Regions from separate parts of the Homo sapiens genome. Here region 1 is linked to region 2. The links are contacts of gene promoters, found by promoter capture Hi-C in human tissues and cell types (Jung and others, 2019). All regions are on one chromosome and are shown on one strand. Each heading gives the region's core, a stretch centred on a gene start or on the middle of the fragment in contact. The rest is flanking DNA. Distances are from core to core; before and after follow the strand shown.

What was found. Contacts are between HindIII fragments. The study calls those that stand out against the background at their distance.
Region 1: a contact is called between a fragment that was not itself captured here and the fragment with the promoter of CLN5 in region 2, in 1 of the 25 tissues and cell types used here (dorsolateral prefrontal cortex).

What each region holds. Positions count from the first base shown.
Region 1 is chr13:77,709,281-77,713,537 of GRCh38, reverse strand. All of the region lies in intron 1 of SLAIN1 (SLAIN motif family member 1), which reads right to left. Among named protein-coding and RNA genes, the nearest start is that of MIR3665, 13 kb to the right of the region's middle. The HindIII fragment of the contact is 5,702 bases long and covers 1-4,257 here.
Region 2 is chr13:76,989,893-76,993,684 of GRCh38, reverse strand. CLN5 (CLN5 lysosomal BMP synthase) reads right to left here and starts at 1,604. Exons shown (of 4, transcript NM_006493.4): 1 at 1,414-1,604. The coding sequence starts at 1,586. RefSeq lists an enhancer at 100-1,299 and silencers at 1,321-1,560, 2,021-2,090, 2,181-2,270. The HindIII fragment of the contact is 12,191 bases long and covers 1-3,792 here.

The sequences.
Region 1 (4,257 bases), core at 998-3,497, 720 kb before region 2:
TCCTCTCCAGCATCTGTTGTTTCCTGACTTTTTAATGATCGCCATTCTAACTGGTGTGAGATGCTATCTCATTGTGGTTTTGATTTACATTTCTCTAATGACCAGTGATGATGAGCTTTTTTTCATGTTTGCTGGCCGCATAAATGTCTTCTGTTGAGAAGTGTCTGTTCATATCCTTCGCCCACTTTTTGATGGGGTTGTTTTTTTCTTGTAAATTTGTTTAAGTTCCTTGTGGATTCTGGATATTAGCGCTTTGTCAGGTGGATAGATTGCAAAAATTTTCTCCCATTCAGTAGGCTGCATAAGCTCTTTAGTTTAATTAGATCCCATTTGTCAATTTTGGCTTTTGTTGCCATTGCTCTTGGTGTTTTACTCATGAAGTCTTTGCCCATGCCCATGTCCTGAATGGTATTGCCCAGGTTTTCTTCTAGGGTTTTTACGGTTTTAGGTCTTACGTTTAAATCTTTAATCTATCTTGAGTTAATTTTTGCATAAGGTGTAAGGAAGGGGTCTGGTTTCAGTTTTCTGCATATGGCTAGCCAGTTTTCCCAGCACCATTTATTAAATAGGGAATCCTTTCCCCATTACTTGTTTTGGTCAGGTTTGTCAAAGATCAGATGGTTGTAAATGTGTGGCATTATTTCTGAGGCCTCTGTTCTGTTCCATTGGTCTATATATCTGTTTTGGTACCAGTACCATGCTGTTTTGGTTACAGTAGCTTTGTAGTAGAGTTTGAAATCAGGTAGCATGATACCTCCAGCTTTGTTCTTTTTGCTTAGGATTGTCTTGGCTATATGGGCTCTTTTTTGGTTCCATATGAAATTTGAAATAGTTTTTTCTAATTATGTGAAGAAAGTCAATGGTAGCTTGATGGGGATGGCACTGAATCTATAAATTACTTTGGGCAGTATGGCCATTTTGACGATATTGATTCTTCCTATCCATGAGCATGGAATGTATTTCCATTTGTTTGTGTCCGCTCTGATTTCCTTGAGCACTGGTTTGTAGTACTTGAAAACGTCCTTCACATTTCTTGTGAGTTGTATTTCTAGATATTTTATTCTCTTTGTAGCAATTGTGAATGGGAGTTCACTCATGATTTGGCTGTTCATTATTAGTGTATAGAAATACTTGTGATTTTTTGCACATTGATTTTGTATCCTGAGACTTTGCTGAAGTTGCTTATCAGCTTAAGGTGATTTTGGGCTGAGATGATGGGGTTTTCTCAATATACAATCATGTCATCTGCAAACAGAGACAATTTGACTTCCTCTCTTCCTATTTGAATACCATTTCTTTCTTTCTCTTGTCTGATTGCCCTGGCCAGAACTTCCAATACTATGTTGAATAGGAGTGGTGAGAGAGGGCATCTTTGTCTTGTGCCAGTTTTCAAAAGGAATGCTTCCAGCTTTTGCCAATTCAGTATGATACTGGCTGTGGGTTTGTCATAAATAGCTCTTATTATTTTGAGATACATTCCATCAATACCTAGTTTATTGAGAGTTTTTAAGCATGAAAGGGTGATAAATTTTATCGATGCCTTTTTCTGCACCTATTAATTATGTGGTTTTGTGATTGGTTCTGTTTATGTGATGATTATGTTTATGATTTGCATATGTTGAACCAGCCCTGCATCCCGGGGATGAAGCCGACTTGACCGTGGTGGATAAGCTTTTTGATGTGCTGTTGGATTCGATTTGCCAGTATTTTACTGAGGATTTTCACATCGATGTTCATCAGGGATATTGGGCTGAAATTTTCTTTTTTATTTGTGTCTCTGCCAGGTTTTGGTATCAGGATGATGCTGGTCTCATAAAATGAGTTAGGGAGGAGCCCCTCTCTTTCTATTGTTTGGAATAGTTTCAGAAGGAATGGTACCAGCTCCTCTTTGCACCTCTGGTAGAATCTGGCTCTGAATCCATCTGATCCTGGGCTTTTTTTGGTTGATAGGTTATTAATTACTGCCTTAATTCCAGAATTTATTACTGGTCTATTCAGGGATTCGACTTCTTCCTGGTTTAGTCTGGGGAGGGTGTTTGTGTCCAGAAATTGATCCATTTCTTCTAGATTTCCTAGTTTATTTTCATAGAGGTATTTATAGTATTCTCAGATGGTAGTTTGTATTTCTGTGGGATCAGTGGTGATATCCCCTTTATCATTTTTTATTGTGTGTATTTGATTCTTCTCTCTTTTCTTCTTTAATAGTCTGGCTAGCGGTCTATCTATTTTGTTGGTCTTTTCAAAAAACCAGCTCCTGGATTCATTAACTTTTTAAAAGGGTTTTTCATGTCTCTATCTCCTTCAGTTCTGCTTAGTTATTTCTTGTTGTCTGCTAGCTTTTGAATTTGTTTGCTCTTGCTTCTCTAGTTCTGTTAATTGTGATATTAGGGTGTTGATCTGAGATCTTTCCTGCTTTCTCTGGTGGGCATTTAGTGCTATAAATTTCCCTCTGAACACTGCTTTAGCTGTGTCCCATAGATTCTGGGACATTGTGTCTTTGTTCTCATTGGTTTTAAAGAACTTATTTCTGCCTTAATTTCTTTATTTACCCAGTAGTCATTCAGGAGCAGGTTGTTCAGTTTCCATGTAATTGTGCGGTTTTCAGTCAGTTTCTTAATCCTGCGTTCTAATTTGATTGCACTGTGGTCTGAGAGACTGTTATGATTTCCATTCTTTTGCCTTTGCTGAGGAGTGTTTTACTTCCAATTATGTGGTCAATTTTAGAATAAGTGTGACATGGTGCTGAAAAGAATGTATATTCTGTTGATTTGGGGTGGAGAGTTCTGTAGATGTCTATTAGGCCCACTTGGTCCACAGCTGAGTTCAAGTCCTGAATATCCTTGCTAATTTTCTGTCTCATTGATCTAATATTGACAGTGGGGTGTTAGAGTCTCCCACTATTATTGTGTGGGAGTCTAAGTCTCCTTGTAGGTCTCTAAGAACTTGTTTTATGAATCTGGGTCCTCCTGTATTGGGTGGATATATATTTAGGATAGTTAGCTCTTCTTGTTGCACTGATCCCTTTACCATTATGTGATGCCCTTCTTTGTCTCTTTTGATCTTTGTTGGTTTAAAGTCTGTTTTATCAGAGACTAGGATTGCAACCCATGTTTTTTTGTTTTGTTTTTTTTTGTTTTCCATTTGCTTGGTAAATATTCCTCCATCCCTTTATTTTGAGCCTATATGTGCCTTTGCATGTGAGATGGGTCTCCTGAATACAGCACACCAATGGGTCTTGACTCTTTATACAATTTGCCAATCTGTGTCTTTTAATTGGGGTATTTATCCCATTTACGTTTAAGGTTAATATTGTTATGTGTGAATTTGATCCTGTCATTATGATGCCAGCTGGTTATTTTGCCCATTAGTTGATGTGGTTTCTTCATAGTATCACTGGTCTTTACAATTTGGTATGTTTTTGCAGTGGCTGGTACTGGTTTTTCCTTTCCATTGTTAGTTCTTCCAAGGCCAGATGCGGTGGCTCACACCTGTAATCCCAGCACTTTGGGAGGCTGAGCCTGGCAGATCATCTGAGGTCAGGAGTTCAAGACCAGCCTGACCAATGTGGCAAAACCCCGCCTCTACTAAAAATACAAAAAATTACCCAGGCCTGGTAGTGGGTGCCTGTAATCCCAACTACTCAGGAGGCAGAGGCAGAGGAATCACTTGAACCTGGGAGGCGGGGGTTGCAGTGAGCCGAGATCGCGCCATTGCACTCCGGCCTGGGTGACAGAGTGAGACTCTGTCTCAAAAACAACAACAACAACAACAATATATTTAGTGCTTCCTTCAGGAGCTCTTGTAAGGCAGGACTGGAGGTGACAAAATCTCTCAGCATTAGCTTGTCTGTAAAGGATTTTATTTTTCCTTCGCTTTTGAAGCTTCATTTGGCTGGATATGAAATTCTGGGTTGAAAATTCTTTTCTTTAAGAATGTTGAATATTGGCCCCCACTCTCTTCTGGCTTGTAGGGTTTCTACAGAGAGATCCGCTGTTAGTCTAATGGGCTTCCCTTTGTGGGTAATTCCTCTTTGGCTGCTCTTAACTTTATTCCCTTCATTTCCACCTTGGTGAATCTGACAATTTTGTGTCTTGGAGTTGTTCTTCTCGAGGAGTATCTTTGTTGTGTTCTGTGTATTTCCTGCATTTGAATGTTGGCCTGTCTTGCTAGGTTGGGAAAGGTCTCCTGGATAATATCCTGAAGAGTGTTTTCCAACTTGGTTCCATTCTCCCAGTCACTTTCAGGTACACCAAATGT
Region 2 (3,792 bases), core at 355-2,854:
TGGAGATTTCACTGACACAGCAAAATCTATTTTAGTTCAAAGGTAATTTAAGTGTGAACTTAATAAACTTAAATATTATATTCAATTGAGGGAATTAGATGGGAGCACGTACTTAATATCTGAGACTTAAAAAAAAAATCCACTAAAAAGCCATAGTCAACACCTTGCCCTAATGTTAAATCAAATCGTTTGGATTTACAATTCTTGTTCTATTGAGTAATTTTGACTTCTTACAAACATTTTATTATTAACATTTTCCAGAAAACTAGCTTCAACCACAAACTTCTCTTTCCACGTAGTATATCACACAAAACAAAAAAGTGTTGTAAACATTTCAGTGAGCAGAATACACTATCTAGGTTTGACAACAGCTGGCATTTTACTAGATTTAATCCTTCCAGCAAACCTATGAGGTACGTGCTACCACTATTCCTATTTTTTGACTCAGGGCATGTGGGCACAGAGATTCTGAGTAACTTTCCCAAGATCCCTGGTGATGACAGAGCCAGATTTGACCCGCAGCAGGCAGAACTCCTTCCCACTCATACTGTCATACAAAATAGCTGTTTTTTTCAGGTTTGTTGTGTGCAGTTTTAGCTGTTGATTACTTATGCTAGTAAGTTAAAATTATGTCCAATGATGCTTTTGGTTTAAAGAAAAATAGCTGTTTTCAAAAACTGCTGGTCTTTCTCCTGCCTGATGTTGACACCATGTTTTCTTTCTCTGTGTTTAGCTATCTCTGACCGCCGGAGGCTGTGTCTTCTCTGTCAAAGGCTGGAATCGACCTCCCAGGTGTGCGGGCTCTGTCCCCGACTTAGGACCGGCGTCCTACCTCCAGGCTGAAGACTGGACAAAAGCGGTGACAATCTTCCCGGTCTAACCAGGACTGCAGGAGACGGGGATTCCCGGGATGCGCGACTTTTGAGGGCAAAACTGGGAAGTCCCAATAAGGACTTCGGATCAGGTTCTGATCAGGTTCAAACCAGAGCGAGTTGGTCGCCCAGTAAATTGTACCAAATGTTCCGCGGTAATAACTAACGACAGTGCATGATATAAATAAATGCGATAGACAGTGTTTTTAAACTACTCAAGAAATCAGCTACTTGTACCCAGAAGTCCCTCCATTAAATAACATTACTCTCCTTTTCTTCTTCCACGATTCAGGACTGTCCTGAGTCTGCCGCAAGTGACCAGAGGGGACGAAAGGTCCCAGGGCTGCACGTAACGAGCGGCTGCGACTCCCCAGTCCTCAACTTTGCTCTCAAGTGCGCTCCGAGCGTCACCCGGCGCTGTCCCCGCACCATCTCGTGACCCGACACAAACCACGGTGAGCAGGGGTCCCCGCCCCAGCACCCCATCCCCCATCGTCAACGCCGACCCCAACCCCGACAGTGCGCGCGCCGCCGCACTCACTTGTAGGGCACCGGCCAGTGGCGCCGGGAGGGGATGCCCGAGACCCGGGACCAGCCCGGAACCACCGCGAGCCAAAGCAGCGCCAGGGCCCAGCACCAGGAAGCGCGTCCCCGAGCCGCGCCCGCGCCCCGCCGCATCTCGGCGCCCTGTGCCGTGTCTACCTCCTGCGCCATCAGGCTGCACCCAGTACTTCCGGAGCCTCTCGAGGCCTGCGACGCCGGTGGGAGGAGCATGCGCGGAGCCGCCAGTCCGGGACGCGGGGCGCCTTGCCCCTGCGCGTCAGCTCCAGAGCTTGGCCCCAAGCGCAGGTTCCGGCGCATGACACCTCCCCGCGCCCGGCCCGCGGCGGCTTCCACACTTTGCAGTCCAGGAAGGTGCTTTGGTCTGGCTCCCAGGAGAATTCGATCCAGACCTGGGGCGTCATCTTTTATGAATTGACCTGTCCTTGCCCAAAAGCCACCACCAAAACCAAAAATCTGTCACCGGGGCTCCTCCCAACACCGAACTTTTACCCCATCCCACAGGGCCCACGCTAGGTGTCAACAAACGTTGAGTGAACGAGAATGTGTATTTGGAGCTGAGGGTGCAGGGCTGGGGGTGCAGTGAGGAAGAAGGGACAATAGTGCGGAAATGGCTCGTCGTCACCCGACCTGGGCCAGTCATAACAGTGGTTAACACTGACAATATGTGGTCCCTGCCACTCCCCAAGTGCTTAGTGGGGAAATGACTCGTCCTCACTCGACCTGGGCCAGTGATAACAGTGGTTAACACCGACAATATGTGGTCCCTGCCACTACCCGAGTGCTGCCGAATCTACCCCCTCCCCTACCGCTCCCCTCACAGGCAGGTGTTCCTTGCTTGGATCTGTCACTTCACTGGAAAGAAGTTTCTGCATCACCTTCTCTTCTTTGACTCTTCAACTAGGTCAAGAAAACAATGGCATCAATTACCCGGCTTTTGAGGAGCCTCTTGTGGCATGCTTTGCTGTTAGGCACAAATACTGACTTAAGTCTATACGTAGTACATTCAGGGCCTTGCCATAGTCACTTGTTTTTACCAGACAGCAGTTTTGCAGGGCCTTAGACCGGGACTTTCCAATTCCTTCACTTCACCCACAACTCGTGTGAAGCATCATAATGTTTGTAAGCCTATGGGAATAAGCAAGGTGGCTTCGGTAGCCGGAGATGACCACCACAATCCATTGGAGGATATGTAGCTTGTGGGGGTGTCACTGACTTCCTTGGGCCCTCCAGGTCTCTTGATTACATATGGGACTCAGTACCCTGCCCCAAACACACACTCCTTTGCCCACTTGCTGCTCCAGGTTTGGGGGTTTTGCGGAGGTTCAGGCTGGGCTGCATTTTACCATACGTTTGTCTAAGCGTTTTGATAGCTACCTAGCTCTCCTCCGTATACTATGGCCAAATTCAAAATTACCAAGGCTAAACTGGCTTCTTCAAAGACCTGCCCAAGATAAGAGGGGGAAGCATTCTAGCCCTGAGAGCTGAAATGTAATGTCTGATTTGAAGGGCACCTGAAGGATTCCGTGGCCCCACACTTGAGCCTAGCTTAAAAAGCAATCAGCAGGAACAGCTTTAAAAAAAAAAAAAAACATTGATTAGAGCATTTACAAATCCTGGAACCATACACAGTATGATGTATGAGGGCCACAGTAGATGGCCTCAACAACCAGAGCCTCCGTGGCTGCCTGGAGAGCGGTGATGCAGGCAGCAGCTTCATGAGATATTTGCAGTTTAATCCAGTCATCTGCAAGCACAATCTGCCCATCAGATTGGACTTTCTTGGAGGCAAAGAGAAGCAACTGCAGTGGGGTGACTAAAGTCATGCCTTTAGCAGAGATGGCTCGAGTTCAAATCTTTTCACCAAATACAAAGAAGGGAGATAGGTACTTCATGTCTTGGCTACTAAAAGGACAATTAACAGTAGATGGTTCCAGGTTCCATCTACTGTTAGTAGAGGGCCACAGTAGAACCTCCCATTCAGTTCAGGACTTCCCAGAGCTACAAAAACAAATTCAGGTTGACCTTGTTCAGTGGTGGAGGCCTCTGGTCTTGCTTCTGCCATCTGTCTCTTCATTCTGTGTGCAGGGAGCTTTCATGGTAAGAAAGCACTTCCTAGTATTGGTTTTTATTTTTTATTTTTTTGGAGACGGAGTCTCCTTCTGTCACCCAGCCTGGAGTGCAGTGATGTGATTTCGGCTCACTGCAACCTCCGCCTCCCGGGTTCAAGCAATTCTCCTGCCTCAGCCTCCCTAGTGGCTGGGTACAAGTGTGTGCCAGTTGTAATTTTTTTTTTTTTTTTTGGTAGAGACGAGGTTTCACCATGTTGGCCAGGCTGGTCTCGAACTCCTGACCTCAA